Regions from separate parts of the Homo sapiens genome. Here regions 2, 3, 4, 5 and 6 are each linked to region 1. The links are contacts of gene promoters, found by promoter capture Hi-C in blood cells and fetal thymus (Javierre and others, 2016). All regions are on one chromosome and are shown on one strand. The core of a region is centred on a gene start or on the middle of the fragment in contact, and the rest is flanking DNA. Distances in the headings are between cores, read along the strand shown. Region 1 holds the start of HINT1 (histidine triad nucleotide binding protein 1). Region 2 has its middle 400 kb from the start of HINT1. Region 3 overlaps RAPGEF6 (Rap guanine nucleotide exchange factor 6). Region 4 overlaps RAPGEF6 (Rap guanine nucleotide exchange factor 6). Region 5 overlaps RAPGEF6 (Rap guanine nucleotide exchange factor 6). Region 6 overlaps RAPGEF6 (Rap guanine nucleotide exchange factor 6).

Region 1 (2,540 bases), core at 13-2,512:
ATTTAGATTTTACGAATTGTCCCAGTAATGTCTTTGATAGCAAAAGTACCAAATGGACACTTTTGAGATTAAAGGCAACCACATTCAATAATTTTGCCAAGACAAGGGTAGTAATGTAATCATAAAAGGCAGCTGAGCTCACATCTGTAATCCCAGCACTTTGGGAGGCTGAGGCGGGTGGAACACCTGAGGTCAGAAGTTTGAGAACAGCCTGGCCAGCATGGGGAAACCCTGTCTCTACTAAAAATACAAAAATTAGCCAGGTGTGGTGGTGCGCGCCTGTAGTCCTAGCTACTTGGGAGGCTGAGGCATGAGAATCACTCGAACTCGGGAGGCAGAGGTTGCAATGAGCCGAGATTGTGCCACTGCAGTCGAGCCTGGGCGACAGAGCAAGAATCTATCTAAAAAAAAAAAAGGCATTGAGGAGGTATACTTTTTCTTAATACGTACACTTAGAGGTCTGGTATGATAACTGTAATTGTCTATAGGATTTTATAAATGGATGTCCTTAGTGACCTTGACAAGAGGGAAATGGACTCAAAAATGAAAGATAAGAAAGCAGACATGGTATGTAGAAAACTTCTTTATAAAACGAGCAAAGATACGGAGGGGGATGTGGGATTAAGGAAGGTTTTTTTTTTTAAAGTGGGTCATTTTATTAATACATTATGTTGATTGCTGCTGGGAAAAATTCTTTGCAGAGCAGTCTAGGGAGGTTTACAAACTACTGATGCCTGGGGCTCATCTCCAAAGATTCTTATTTAATGGATCTGGGCTGCAGCCAGGTTCACGGGGATTTTTAAAAGCTCCCCAAGTGATCTTAATGTGTAGTCAAGATTGAGAACCACTGGTAGAGAGAGAAAAAAACTCTGTTGAAGAGAGGACTTAAAATCTGCTGCAGCAGCAAGACCTTAAATAATCTAAGTGCTAAGTTGCAGCCAGCACCACTTAAATTATCAAATCTTGTCAGTTACAGTATCCAACTTTCCCTACAAGCATCCATAGGCAGACGAAGGGTTTATACCAGTAACTGCATTCCCCAGGAGACAAGAAAGGAGGATAGAAAAACGACTTAGGAATCTCCTTGGAGCTCAAGACCAGGAACTTCCCCAAGCCGGAGGTCCCTGAGGCGCTCTAGCGCGCTGGCCGCACTCGCAGCCCAGGTCGCCAGTGCGCACGCGCAAGATTAGGTGGGGCGCCAGAGCCGGGGCACCTGCGCAGGCTTGGCTGCGCCCTCTCGCGCCGCACGCTCTGCGGGTTCCTCCCTTCTTCCGAGCCTCTCCTCTGGCCGCCGCGCGGGAGAGAGGCCGAGATGGCAGATGAGATTGCCAAGGCTCAGGTCGCTCGGCCTGGTGGCGACACGATCTTTGGGAAGATCATCCGCAAGGAAATACCAGCCAAAATCATTTTTGAGGATGACCGGGTAGGTACTGGGCACCACCTCTCTCGCCTGCTGAGGTGGGTATCGTCCGCGGATCCTCGGGTTTCTCGCGGAGGGAGAGGAGGGGTCGCGAGTGTAGCGGCGACGGGAGGGGACCTGGCTGCCCTGGTCCAGCGGGCCCCCAGCCAGCGGACAGGGCCCGGGCACTCCGAGGCGGCCTGCCGGCGCGTGCCGGCGCTCCGGTTACTCGTTATCTGCCCCGGGCGCGGGCCAGGCCGCCGGGCGCCCTGAGTGCCGCACCGCGGGGCCTGGGCGCGTGTCGGGGCGCACTGGGGCCCCCGCGTGGAAGCCCGCCGGTTCCCCGGCTGCCTCGGACCTTGCCTGTATCAGGAATCTCGAAATCTCGCCAGCGCTCTGCCTGACAGAGAGAAACCCGATCGCGCCCTGACTCAGGCCCAATCTCCGCGATCTCCCGCGCACAGCCGGCCTGCCAGGGCCCGGCGTTCCTGGGCGCTGCTCAGCAAGGCATTGTGCTCGAGGGCCCCAGGGGCGCTGGGAGGTGCGCGGGCCGTCTGGGCCTGCCGGCTTCCTCCGCGGGGTGCGGCTTGCCACCCTCACCCCTACCCCTATCCCTATCTCCACCCCAAGGCCTACCCTGGGCTAGCGAGGCGATCTCCTGAGATAAGAAGTGGGCCCGCGTCTGGGATTTGCTTTCCGTTGACCTCTCCCGCTGAACATTTTGGACTTACAAACAGCTGAATGATTCTTTTTGTATTCAACAGGAAGTAATTTTATGCCAAGAGACTAAGACTGTAGTTTTTGTTGACTTCTTGTAGGTGAAATCCCAGTTGATGTGACTTTGAGATATCTTGTGTAAATTATTTAGTGGCCAGTTGTATTTTTGGGATTGGATCTCAGATAAAGCTGGGCAGATTGGCTGATTTAGATAGAACAAATTTTGTAAACAGTTTTGTTAAATTTAGGAAATATAAAATCTAAGAAAAACATTTATTCTACTAATGTCGGTTAGATTCAAAACGTTATCAAAAATTTAATTAGGTTCCTCTAGGTAAATTAAAAAAAAAAATACTTTGTCTCTACTCAGGGGAAATTCTTTGGTTTTAGAAAAAATATTTCTTTTTAAAGTTCGCAGTTGCCT
Region 2 (2,540 bases), core at 25-2,524, 400 kb after region 1:
CACTGGCTCACACCTGTAATCCCAGCACTTTGGGAGGCCGAGGTGGGCAGATCACCAAGTCAGGAGATTGAGACCATCCTGGCTAACACAGTGAAACCCCGTCTCTACTAAAAATACAAAAAAATTAGCCGGGCGTGGTGGCGGGTGCCTGTAGTCCTGGATACTCAGGAGGCTGAGGCAGGAGAATGGCATAAACTTGGAAGGCAGAGCTTGCAGTGAGCTGAGATCGCGCCACTGCATTCCAGCCTGGGTGACAAAGTGAGACTCCGTCTCAAAAAAACAAAAAAACAAAAAACCAAAAAAACCCCACTAGCACTTATTCCTTCCATGTAAGTGTGTGTTTACGTGTTAACCAACGTTTCTTCACCTCCTGACCCTCACATTCCCAGTCTCTGGTATCTGTCATTCAACTTCCTCTACCTCCACAAGATATACATTTTTTTAAGCTCCCACATAATAATGAGAATATGCAATATTTGTATTTCTGTGCCTGGCTTATTTCCTCCTGTTCCATCTACATTGCAGCAAATGACAGGATTTCATTCTTTTTATGGCTGAATTAGTATTTCATTGCTCATATGTACCACATGTCCTTTATTCATTCATCTATTGATGGACACTTAGGTTGATTCCATATCTTGGCTGTTGTGAATAGTGCTGCAATAAATATGGAGGTACAGGTGTCTCTTTGATAACACTGATTTCCTTTCCCTGGAATAAACACCCAGAAGTGGGGTTGCTGGATGGTATGATAGCTCTATTTTTAGTTTTTTGAGAAACTTCCATACTGGTTGCCATAATGGCTGTATTAATTTACGTTCCCAAAAACAGTGTGTGAGTTCCTTTTTGCATCTTCAATAGCATTTGTTATTTTTGTCTTTTTTGATAATAGCCATTATAACTGCATCTCACCCACTCTTAATGAAATTTGTTGTATCAATGGAGAATATACTTGAGACATAATAAATTATATTTTTCCTTTTCTTGCTTAAACTTTTTTTTAAGGGAAGGAACTTAGGGTTAGTTGTTAAATTTAAGAGAAAATATATAGGTTAATTAAAACTTATACAGAGAGTGAGAGAGACAGAGAGAGAGGAAGAGAGAACAAGAAATTAATGAATATAGTCAGGATGATAGAATTCTTTGTTTTCTTGCAATCATGAAATTAAGGTCTTCCAAGATCACAGTAGGAGTTTAGTCAAGTCAATAAAGATGGAATCTTAGAATGTACTACTCCTGGTGGGATATATATTATAGTAATGAGCTTAAAATGAGAAATTATTTATAAATAATATAAATAGTAGTGAAAGGCAGAATTAGTTCCATCAGTTCCCATTGAAAAGATATAGGGAGAAATTTGAGAGAGGTTTGTGCCAAAAATAACGTGGTGAGCCCATGAGTGGAAGAACTTGTGTTTCATAAAGAAGAGTTGACTGTACCCTAAAGCCAATCAAGATAAATTTTTAAGAGTTCTAACCTTCTCTTGACCCACTGATTTTGCTTGAAGTCTCTGTAAGTAATATATCATGTAGTTGTTTCCTTTCTGCATTGTTTCCTCTGTGCCACACAGTGGCATCTTCTAAGAGCCTTGGACTAGAGAATGGCTGAAGCTCACTTTGCTGGGGCCCCTGGCTAGCTTTGCAGGGAACTGGAACAACTCTAGCTGTTTGCTGTTTCATTTGCTGTTCTTTCCTTATTATTGTGGAGGACCAGTATTGCCTAGAACAGGAATAGAAAAAAATCTCTTCTTTCTTGGCTATTAGTTGTTTTTATTTGCAGAGGATTACTGGGAAAATTCACTAATCTTCAGGATATTACAAATGGTGTATTTGTAGAAGAGTTCAATCCAATCTGTCCTAATTTAAGAAGCAGCTTTATTTTTCACATTTGAAAGCTACTCAACTCTCATGGTGAATGAATTATTGTTTGTTTTTTGACTATGTAGATTTATTTTGATTGTTAGTTCTTTGTGGTTTAACCATTGCTATGTGGCATTGGCTGGAAATAATTTAGTGAATAAAAGAGGTTAGGAATAAATCAGAATTTTTTTTCTCTCTAATGGGACATAAATGGTTTTGGTTAATAAACAAAAGGTGAAAAGAAAATATTGCAAAACATAAGGTGACATGACAATATGCAAAATCCTGTTTATATGACACATTTCAGGCATACTTAAATCTAAATCTCCAGAGCAATTTAACTTAAATGATTTGACCTTTATCTAAGGGAATCACCCTATATTAATTCTTTTAGCTAGAGAAAGCAGGCACAGTCCTCCCCAATCATAGAGTACTTGTATTTATATTTATATATGAATGGGACAAGGTAGATATTCAGAAATATTACTTGAATAAGTGTTCTACCATACATTGTGGTTAACTGTAGCCAAAAATCAAAACAATAAAAATTAAATTTGGTGAACTAATGATTTCACTGAAAAAGAAATTAACTTATTTAAAAATAATTTTTAAATGGAAAGGCTACAATATTCCAGTGTAGACACATCTAATTAACATTACCTATCTGTGTTTCTAATCATA
Region 3 (2,540 bases), core at 26-2,525, 390 kb before region 1:
CTGGTAATTTTTAAATTTCAAAAATTTAAATTTATTGATGATTGGTATAATTTTAAATGCTTTATGAGTTATAGGAGAAAACAATCCAAAATAGGTGAAATTTTTCAGAATTGTTAAAAATGCCTGGTCAAATGGTTTTGTCTATTTGTACAGATTTGATTAACTCCACTGGTGATTGGAAGTGTCTGTTACTGAACACATTCTTGATCACCTGATAAGTTAGTCATCTTAATCTGACACATTGTAAAGTAATCTCCTTGTTTTAACTTTTTTTTTTCTTTTTTTTTTTTCTTTTTTTCTTAAAGAAAAGGGGCTTACCGAGAGTAGAGTGTGCGGTGGTGCGATAGCTCAGCGCAGCCTTGGACTCCTGGGCTCAAGTGAGCCTCTCTCCTCAGTCTCTCAAGTAGCTGGGACTACAGATGCACCCCACCATACCCAGCTAATTTGTTGTTGTTGTTGTTGTTGTTATTGTTTTTGTAGAGACAGCCTTGCTATGTTTCACAGGCTGATCTCGAACTCTTGACCTCAAACAATCCTCCCACCTCAACCTCCCAAGTGTTGGACTTACAGGTGTGAGCCACCATGCCTGGCCCAAAGTATACTTTTAGGCAAGAAGCATTATTTAATGTAAGAATGGTACTGTATAGTGATAAAAGGTTAATTGTATCAAGGTTACACAATCCTGAAGCTTTACATGCCTTCAAAATACATAAAACAAAAATTGTCCTTAGTAAAATCAGAACTAGACAAACCCACAATCACAGTGGGAGATTTTTATTTTTATTTTTATTTTTATTTTCATTTTGTGATGGAGTTTTGCTCTCTCGTCTAGGCTGGGGTGCAGTGGCATAATCTCAGCTCACTGCAACCTCTGTCTCCCAGACTTAAGTGATTCTCCTGCCTCAGCCTCCCAGGTAGCTGGGATTACAGGTGTGCGCCACCACGTGCAGCTAATTTTTGTATTTTTAGTAGAGACAGTGTTTTGCCATGTTGGCCAGGCTGGTTTTGAACTCCTGACCTGAGGTGATCCTCTTGCCTCGGCCTCCCAAAGCGCTGGGATTAACAGGTGTGAGCCGCTTTGCCTGGCCAGGAGATTTTAATATACCTCTAAAGTAACTGACAAAACAACCACCATGAGTCAGTAAGGATATTGAGGATTTGAACCTCATCATGTACACATTTTACCTAAGAGACATAACAGGGAACACTACACTTATCAACAACAGAGTACGCCTACTTTTCAAGTGCACATGGAATGTTTTTTAAATTTGACCACATGCTGGGACATAAAGCAAGTCTCAAAATTTCAGTATTTAAAATTTTATAGTTTCTGACCACCATGAAATTAATTTAAAAACCAATTATAAAAACACAGCTAGAAAAAAAAATACAACTTCTGAAATTCAGGCGTATGCTCTAAATCGCTTGTCAAAGAAGAATTACTTAGAAAATTAGAAAATATTTTAAATGAATAAATATGACCTATTAAAATGTGTAGAATTCAGCGTAAGCCTTTCTTGTTGTGAAATTTAAGCCCTAGTGCTATAAGAGCAAAGGCTGACAGTAAAGTATTCATGTCAGGAAATTAAAGAGCAGCATATGAATAGTAATCACAAGCCAAGAAATAGTAAAGATCAATATAAAAATAAATATCAGTGGCATAAAAGCAAACTTAGAATAATGAGGATTGACAAAGGACAAGGTTGAGTCTCAGAAAAGACTAAGAAAATTGATAAACCCGTCAAAGATAATCAAAAATAAAACATGTCATACAATCAGTATCAGGAAGGAAAAAGGATTCACTACTACGATCTAGCAAACATTTTTAAAATGCTAATAAGGGAGATGGTATGGAAAGCTTAAAGCAAGTAAGTTTGAAGTTTTAGTCAAATTCCTTGGAAAAAAAAAAAAAAAACCAAACTGGCATATACACACACAAACAGAAGATCTGCACAAGCCAATATCTAGAAAAGAAAGTGAATCTGTAATTATAAACCTTTTCATTTAGAAATTCAGACCCATGTGGCTTCACTGGTAAATTTTTCCAAACATTTAAAGAAGAAATAATACTTAGCATCTAATAGGAAATAGAAAAACTTTAACTTCTTTGCCTTATTTTATGAGCCTATTTTAATTTTTATAACAGCCTAACAAGGGCATTATACAAAAGCAGTATTATAGGTTAGTATTTTTAAATGAAAATAAATGTAAAAATCTTAACATTTTAGGTAGTCCAATTTCAGTAATACATACAGAGGATAAAACAACATGACTACATTGAATTTAGTTCCAGAATCACAAATTGATTTAGCATTTGAATGTGTGATTCACTACATTGATATAATTAAAGAAAAAAATCAGGTAATCATTTCTATGGATGCAGAAAAAGCTCTTGATAATCAGAACCCGTTCATGATTTTAAAAGCTTTTAGCAAGCTAGGAAGGGAATGAAACTTTTATAACCTAATTGTTACCTGCAGAAACCCTATAATAAACATTGAAAACTTTCTCCCAACATTTGGGAATATATGGAGAAAGCT
Region 4 (2,540 bases), core at 16-2,515, 370 kb before region 1:
CTTTAGGTTTGCATATACTTGAGTAACTATATACAAAATGTATCCTTTTGTGCAGGTATGAAGATGCTTGATACGCAGTGTAGACGGAAAGCAGAAGCATAGTGGTGCCTTTTATTGTTCTTTCAATTTCACTGATTCTAATTATAGAAGCTTACATCACCTTGGTTGATGATGACGGTTTCTCTCTCCTTCTTGGTTTTTCTTCCTCTATTACTCCCTAAGGGTGGATCATATTTCATAGTGCATGTGTGTCCAGCTGGTGGCTGTGACAGATTTTCAACAAAAATGGGGGTGATCAGTTAGTGGATATATATGACAGTATGCTGAAGCACACTGTTTCTTACAAGAGAATAAAAGAGCGTTGGTACTCTTGCCTCCCCTCCTTCATGAAGGCTGAGGAATAGGTATGCAGTTTGAAAGCAGAAGTCCTAAGGGGCACCAGTAATTAGAGTTAACTGTGTCTGATAACTGCAAAGATGCATTTCAGATGTTCATGTTAAACATGGGGGAAAACGGGTGGAAAAGATTGTTATGATCCTTTGAAAGGGCTTGTATGTTACCTATGATCATTTCAGTCATTTATTCATTTATTTTCCAAAAGACTTAAAGTGTTTTCACTATGTAAATCAGTACAATTTAAGTTTATATTTCAAAAACCAAATATAACTAAAATACAGAAATGAATATCCTCTTTATTTTGTAAAACTACAGAATTTTTCTTTTGTTCTTTAACTTCTTTGGCGTTTGACTTCTCTAAATTATGATTATAATATTTCATTGCAGATTGGGAATAAATTCCATTTAAAAATATAATAAGTAAATAAAATGCCTGGGTTAGTATAAATCCAGTTTTTGTTATCATTAGTTTTGTTTGTTTTTCATAATGCCTAGAATGTTTATCCTCTTATGGCTTACCTTCATCTATGGTAACCTTTCTCTGTCCTTCTTTTCAGTGTTGTCACATATTAACATAAAAGATGTGTTTACAGTTAGTTTAGTAACTATCAGAACCTTATCTTTGGCTTTCTAAACAATATGATTTTAAGTATTTCAGTTTGTATTTTTGTTTATAAATAATATACACAGTTAACATAAATTTTAATAACTACATGGCATTTACACTTTTATAAAAGTATTTTGTCATGATTTGAATCTTTGCAAAGTCAACATACATTGCTCTATTTTATAGTAGTGCAAAAGACCTTTCTAAAGCTAAAGATTTCATTAATAAGGGTTAGCATCATGGCATTTCATATGCAGGGGAAACGTGTTCATAAGTGGCTGTCCTGTAGTGATTCCTAGACAATAGGTAGATCAGGACATTCTCCTTTGCTGCACTTAATTCATTTGAATTGATAAGATAATGAGATGAGATCGTGATAAAATTCTAAAAGTGATGCAAGGGAAAAATAGGTTATTCACCTAGTCATTTATTTTAGTTATTTGATAAATTACTATTCTCTTCAAAGGATGTTTATTTCTTCATTCAGTAGTTAAAAGGTGAAGTCATTATTTCCTCAGAATGCTGGTGGATCCCCGTGTTGAGTATGGAATTTGGCCTGTTTCTTTTCTTAGTATTGTTACACAGGGAGATTTAGCATGATAGGTTCACTATACAGTTCCCTGGAATCGAAGATACTATGAGATGATTGGTAGAAAAGGAAAAGGATGATGTCATCTTCACTTACAAGCCAAACTAAAGGAAAAGAGAATTTTGTTCCTTTACTGAGTTGGTGTTTACTACAGTAGGTCTAACATATGGCACTAGTGGATTGCATTTCTCACACTGGGCAGCAGTTTTTTAAAGCAGCTAAGAGATGGCTGTCTCCCTTGCCCAGCTTGAGGTCCTTCTTTGTGTGTTGATCAGCATGATTTATAAAAAGGGGGAAAGGTGTGCATTAAAATTTTGCTTTTTGATTCGGCTATAATATATTCTGTTGGTACTATACATGAATATAATTACTGTCTGGTGTTGAAATTCTTGGTATTCTTGAATCTTGCTACTGATATTTATGTGTAAAATACTCATCTTTTAGAAATTTTATCTTAAGTGAAAGTTTGTCTTCATGTACATACAAAGTACCTACTATCATTTTTCTGTTTTAAAGAATGATTAACATTAGATTTTAATTAATGTACAATATTAAGTATCAAGTGGAATTCCAACTCACGTATGATTGATTTAAATTAAACTGAAAAAAAAAAAAACACATTGGTGCTTGAAAACCAACCTGTATAAATATTGCATGTTTTATGTTTAGAAAACTAGTCATGCTTGTTTGCATTTGTGAGATTTAATTTTATATTTAAATGCGGGTATTGTGTATTTTGGTATTGTGTCTTTTGGAATTTTGGCAGAAAAACATTCTTAAAAGCTTTATGAAAATCTAAATAATTACATATTTTGAAAGCATAACTTGTCTTTGTTCAAAATTATACTTAGTTTAACTTAAATTCTAGTTTTATAAGTAGCAGTGTAATTCAGATTGGCAGCATAGTGTTGTTCAGAAAGTGACTCAGACTTTTCTCAAAGATATTGA
Region 5 (2,540 bases), core at 17-2,516, 330 kb before region 1:
AAGATTTTCTATTAACTTACAGGACATTTCTTGAAAGTCCTTTGGATGTTGGGATCAAACTATTGGAATGGTTTAAGATCGACAGCTTAAGAGATAAGGTTGGTTTTATAAGGGGCATGAAAGTGATTTTAACCCAAAATTTTATTCATGAAACTTTTATAGTTGATAGATTACCTGTTTATTATGATAATAAGATTCAGTACACCTAAAAAAATTAATGAACCTGAACCATCAGTATAAACATTCTCTGCTTACTTTTATGACAGAATAGCATGCTAAAAGTGGACGAGAGCCTTAAAAGGCAAAAACTGAAATAAAGCTCTGGTATAGCTATAGGTTCAGGAAACATAATAGTTACATGAGAGTATTTTAGAATTTTACTGAAATACTTGATTGTTTCTGGAGATCAATAAAACATTTTAAAACGGATTTAATATTTTAGAAAGAATATTCATCAAATACATTTTTTTAAGAGGGCAGATTGCTTTTAAGCTTCAAAATGGGAATATTTTTATTTTCTTGAGTTACAGACTTCACAATCATTTGAAAACAATTTATCAAACCTTAATATGTCTCTCCTGTGACTTATTTAAATCTACCTTTTGAGTATTTTTTTGTATTAAATGTTGTTCACTATTTTAAATAAATTAGCTTATTTCATGGGATATGTTTGCACATTTAATGGAAAGACTAGTAATACTTCCACAAATTGGTAAGAAATAAGTTGTTTCAAGAAAATAAAAGTAGGATCATAATTGTCTGGTGTGTCTTTTTGAGTTATATTTTAAAGGAAATAAACTAGTTGCAGGTAAACTGCAGAATTCTTTTATTTAGGAGACTAACATCTAAAACTACAGGCTTGCACACCTCTCACCCTTTTTCTTAGAATTAAATATATTTACCTTGGTTGCCAAGAAAATAAAGGCATGCTTTGGAAATGAACAAGAATATGATTTAGTGATAATTATCCATATGCAAAAGAATGAAAATGGATTACCACCTTATACTATAAACAAAAATGTACCCAAAATGGGTCAGAGACAGAAGAGCTAAAACTATAATGCCTTAAAGATAGGGGTAGATTATCATGGCCTTGGATTTGGCGTTGGTTTCTCAAATATGAAAATATGATACCCAAGCACAAGCAACAAAAGAAAAAAGAGATAATTGGACCTCATCAAAATTAAAATTATTTTTGCATCAAAGGACACTGTCCAGAAAGTTAAGACAATGCACAGAATAAGAGAAAATTATATATCTGATAAAGGTTTAATATCCAAAATACATAAAGAACTTTTACAACTCAACAACGAAAAGACAGCACAGTTTAAACATGGACCAAGGACTTGTATAGACATTTCTCCAAAGAAGATATGTAAATGGCCAACAGGCACATGACAAAGATGTTCAGCATCATTAATCATAGAGATATGCAGTCATAACCTCAATGAGATACCACTTTACACCCACTAGGATGGCTTTTAAAAAGGGGGAAAAAAGAAAAAGTAACAAACATTGCCAACGGTATGGAGACATTGAACCCTCCTCCCCACCCCCACCCTACACACATTGATGGTGGGAATGTAAAATGGTATTACCTCTGTGGAAAAAACAGTTTGAGCAGTTCTTCAAAAAGTTAAACATAGGGTTACCATATAGCCCAGCAATTCTAATCCTAGGTAAATACCCAGAGAATTAAAAACAGGTGTGCAAACGAAAACTTGACGTAAATATTCGTAGCAGCACTATTGACAATAGCCAAAAGGAAGAAATGACCCAAATGCCCATCATGGATAAACAAAATGTGGTATAGCCGTACAATAAAATATTATTCAGCCATAAGAAGAAAAGAAGTACTAATACTTACTACACCATGATGAACCTTGAAAACATTAAGCTAAGTAAAAGAAGCCAATCACAAAAGGCTAGGTATTGTATGATTCTATTTATGTGGAATAGCCAGAACAGACAAATAGACAGAAAAGCAGACTAGTGGCCGCCAGGGGCTGGAGAGAGGGCAGAATGGGAAGTGAAAGCTTAATGAGTTTGAGGTTTACTTTTGGAGTGATGAAAATGTTCCAGAACTCAGAACTAGACAGTGGTGATGGTTACACAGTATTGTTAAGGTACTAAATTATGAACTTTAAAATCATTAAAATGATGAATTTTATGTGGATTCTACCACGATTTAAAAAAAATGACTCATTTCTTACATTGTTAGGCATGTTATTCAAATCAGCTTACATTCGTTAATTTTTAACTTTTCTGAAGCAAAGTAAACGATTCTGCAGTTTGAAAATTTACAGTGTTTATAATGAAAGAAGTTTCAGATTTGTAAGGGTTTTTGTTTTGTTTTTTAATTTTTATAGAGACAGGGTTTTGCTATGCCCAGGCTGGTCTCAAACTCCTGGACTCAAGGGATCCTCCTTGCTTCAGCCACCTGAGTTGCTGGCATTGCAGGTGTGAGCCACTGCACCAGACTCAGATTTGTTTTTGTTACCGTTTTGGTTAAACATGTTCTTGACCATGGAAACGCTTTC
Region 6 (2,540 bases), core at 17-2,516, 310 kb before region 1:
TAATCCCAGCTGCTTGGGAGGCTGAGGCAAGAGAACTACAAAAATTAGCTGGGCATGGTGGCACATGCCTGTAATCCCAGTTACTCGGGAGGCTGAGGCAGGAGAATCACTTGAACCCAGGGAGATGGAGGTTGTGGCGAGCCAAGCTCGTGCCACTGCACTGCAGCCTGGGTGACAGAGTGAAACTCCGACTCAAAAAAATAATAAATAAATAAATAAATAAATTTTATTTTTAGTAGCGACAGGGTTTCACCATGTTGGCCAGGCTGGTCTGGAACTCCTGACTTGGAACTCCTGACCTCAGGTGATCCACGCGCCTCAGCCTCACAGAGTGCTGGGATTACAGGTTTGAGCTACCGCACTAGCCAATAAATATTTTAAAATGACAAAATTATTTGATTCAGTAGTTCTGTTTCTAATAGTAATTAGATGAAGATTTATATATAGATGCTCCAAGTTGTTTTATCTACACTAAAAGTTGGAGCACCCTAAATGTCCAACTACAAGGATTGGTTAAATAAATTCTACTACACATCAGAAAAATGACTAGAAGGAAAAATATCAAAATGTTGATTGTGGTTTTTGGAAGGCATAGTTTCATAGGTAATTTTTCCCTTCCTTCTCTGCTTTCTTTCTGTATTTTACAAGTTTTCTTCTTGAACATTTGTTATTTTTTAATTGAAAAAAATGTTTAATGAGTTCAGTTTCACAATTTCTGAGCATCTCCTGTGTGCCAGACCTCTTTGGAAGAGGCACCAAGAACAGAAACTTGTTCTCTGCCTTTAGCAGCACTCAGTTCTGTAAGAGTAGAGGATGAGTTGTCATAGAAAAGAAAGAATGTAAGGAAAGAACAAATACTTGAGATAAGAATAGATAATTCCAAAATCCCAAACAAACCATGATATAATTTTAAAAGAATGTTCCTAAAAATTAAAGTGAAAAATGTTACTAGTTTGAATTACATCTGTAAGTTAAGACGGAAGTATGGTTTTTATTGACCTAAGAATTCTTCACATTTCAGGAAATCTGTTTTTCTTTTTTAAAAATCACATAGCTTTTATTTTGTTTTTAAAATCACAGTTGCCTAAGTAACATCTCTGTGTTATTCATTGTAACAATCCCAGAAATAAACTGCCTTGCTTGCTTAACTGGAATTATATTTTTCCTCCCCATTTCTTGTCAACGTATTTTTGTTTGCTTTTTAAATATTGGGATTCTATTTTATTTACATATTGGCGATATTTATGTAGCCTTTTTAGTTTCATAATATGAAACCAAGTACTTTTATCCTAAGTAAATTTAGTGTTGGGGAAGTATTGAGGAATATTTTTAAACGATTTTTCTTCTGTTACTGCATCACCTTCTCAGGAGACTGTTTTGGTAAGAATGATACAATTACTTGCCAAATGGGCTTTATCAACTCAGCTTTCAAATAAGCATGGATATTTTGCCAACTAAATACTGTTTCATTCATGGCATAGCATGGATTGTACATAGCAGTATAGTTTTCATTTATGCACCTCACACTTTAATTACTACGAATTTGTAACCAGCTTTACATATTTATAGCTATACAGTGTTTTCTCTATTGAGCATTCAAAAGCAGAAGCGATGTTAAATAGCATCAGCAAGAGATATAAGGACTTTTCGTATTTTCTGTACATCTTAATTTGTATAGTGATTCAGCTTGCTGCAGTTGATGCAGTTAATTCCCTTTAATAGAAAATTGTAACTTTTTAACATTGTTAAAGTTGCTTCTACTTAATTATTAGTAGGACTGGACAACCTCTTTAATGGTTTGCTTCCTTGGATTGTTGTCGCACCCTCTGTGTCCAAAAATTGATGTGTTTGTTTTCAAAAGTCAATTAAAGAAAGACTGTTTTTTTAAAAAATCTTTATTTTCTGTATACTTTAAATACCTTTGAAAGCCCTTTTTCCTCTTATTTTCTCTTACCTAACCTTAGAACATTTAACTCTAACCTTTAGGAATACAAACCAAATTATAAGGAGTCAATTTAGAGTAAATGCAAATTATTTATCAAATGAGATATCTCCTTTGCTTTATCTGTCAAATTAGACTGCCTTCTCTCCCCAGGAAAGCACTTCCTGTTTCTCTAGTACCTTTACTCGGACCTGCCTCTACTTTTTAATATAAACTGAGTAAAATAAATAATTCTCCCTTCTGTGTTTGTACAATTCTCATTTTATTTTTATTTATTTATTGTTTTGATACGGAGTCTTGCTCTGTCACCCAGGCTGCTCTCTGCAACCTCTGCCTCCTGGGTTCAAGCGATTCTCCTGCCTCAGCCTCCAGAGTAGGTGGGATTACAGGCACGAGCCACCCGACTTCTGGCTAATTTTAGTATTTTTAGTAGAGACGGGGTTTCGCCATGTTGGCCAGGCTGGTCTTAAACTCCTGACTCAGGTGATTCACCCACCTCTGCCACCCAAAGTGCTGGGATTGCAGGGGTGAGCCAATGTGCCCCGCCCTATTCTCATTTTAATTTTTGTAAAAGTAAGTCCATTCTTAAGAATTAAAG

The links. Contacts are between HindIII fragments. The CHiCAGO score rates a contact against its expected background, and 5 or more counts as called.
Region 2: a contact is called between a fragment that was not itself captured here and the fragment with the promoter of HINT1 in region 1, in 1 of 17 cell types (monocytes). The highest score is 5.2, in monocytes.
Region 3: a fragment that was not itself captured here is called in contact with the fragment with the promoter of HINT1 in region 1 in 1 of 17 cell types (activated CD4 T cells); the score reaches 5.9 in activated CD4 T cells.
Region 4: a contact is called between a fragment that was not itself captured here and the fragment with the promoter of HINT1 in region 1, in 2 of 17 cell types (monocytes and total B cells). The highest score is 5.9, in monocytes.
Region 5: a contact is called between a fragment that was not itself captured here and the fragment with the promoter of HINT1 in region 1, in 3 of 17 cell types (non-activated CD4 T cells, activated CD4 T cells and total CD8 T cells). The highest score is 7.8, in non-activated CD4 T cells.
Region 6: a fragment that was not itself captured here is called in contact with the fragment with the promoter of HINT1 in region 1 in 1 of 17 cell types (naive CD8 T cells); the score reaches 5.3 in naive CD8 T cells.

What each region holds. Positions count from the first base shown.
Region 1 is chr5:131,163,978-131,166,517 of GRCh38, reverse strand. HINT1 (histidine triad nucleotide binding protein 1) reads left to right here and starts at 1,262. Exons shown (of 3, transcript NM_005340.7): 1 at 1,262-1,423. The coding sequence starts at 1,313. RefSeq lists enhancers at 893-942, 1,213-1,872, 1,873-2,533 and silencers at 1,093-1,142, 1,153-1,232, 1,443-2,082. The HindIII fragment of the contact is 11,885 bases long and covers 1-2,540 here.
Region 2 is chr5:130,767,807-130,770,346 of GRCh38, reverse strand. No RefSeq gene overlaps it. Among named protein-coding and RNA genes, the nearest start is that of HINT1, 400 kb to the left of the region's middle. The HindIII fragment of the contact is 3,664 bases long and covers 1-2,540 here.
Region 3 is chr5:131,557,594-131,560,133 of GRCh38, reverse strand. The region is part of intron 5 of RAPGEF6 (Rap guanine nucleotide exchange factor 6); the gene reads left to right. Among named protein-coding and RNA genes, the nearest start is that of RAPGEF6, 76 kb to the left of the region's middle. The HindIII fragment of the contact is 1,170 bases long and covers 691-1,860 here.
Region 4 is chr5:131,534,275-131,536,814 of GRCh38, reverse strand. The region is part of intron 6 of RAPGEF6 (Rap guanine nucleotide exchange factor 6); the gene reads left to right. Among named protein-coding and RNA genes, the nearest start is that of RAPGEF6, 100 kb to the left of the region's middle. RefSeq lists an enhancer at 40-269 and a silencer at 25-319. The HindIII fragment of the contact is 2,225 bases long and covers 153-2,377 here.
Region 5 is chr5:131,496,001-131,498,540 of GRCh38, reverse strand. It overlaps RAPGEF6 (Rap guanine nucleotide exchange factor 6), which reads left to right. Exons shown (of 28, transcript NM_016340.6): 12 at 1-98. Among named protein-coding and RNA genes, the nearest start is that of RAPGEF6, 140 kb to the left of the region's middle. The HindIII fragment of the contact is 1,544 bases long and covers 495-2,038 here.
Region 6 is chr5:131,474,132-131,476,671 of GRCh38, reverse strand. The region is part of intron 16 of RAPGEF6 (Rap guanine nucleotide exchange factor 6); the gene reads left to right. Among named protein-coding and RNA genes, the nearest start is that of RAPGEF6, 160 kb to the left of the region's middle. The HindIII fragment of the contact is 2,890 bases long and covers 1-2,540 here.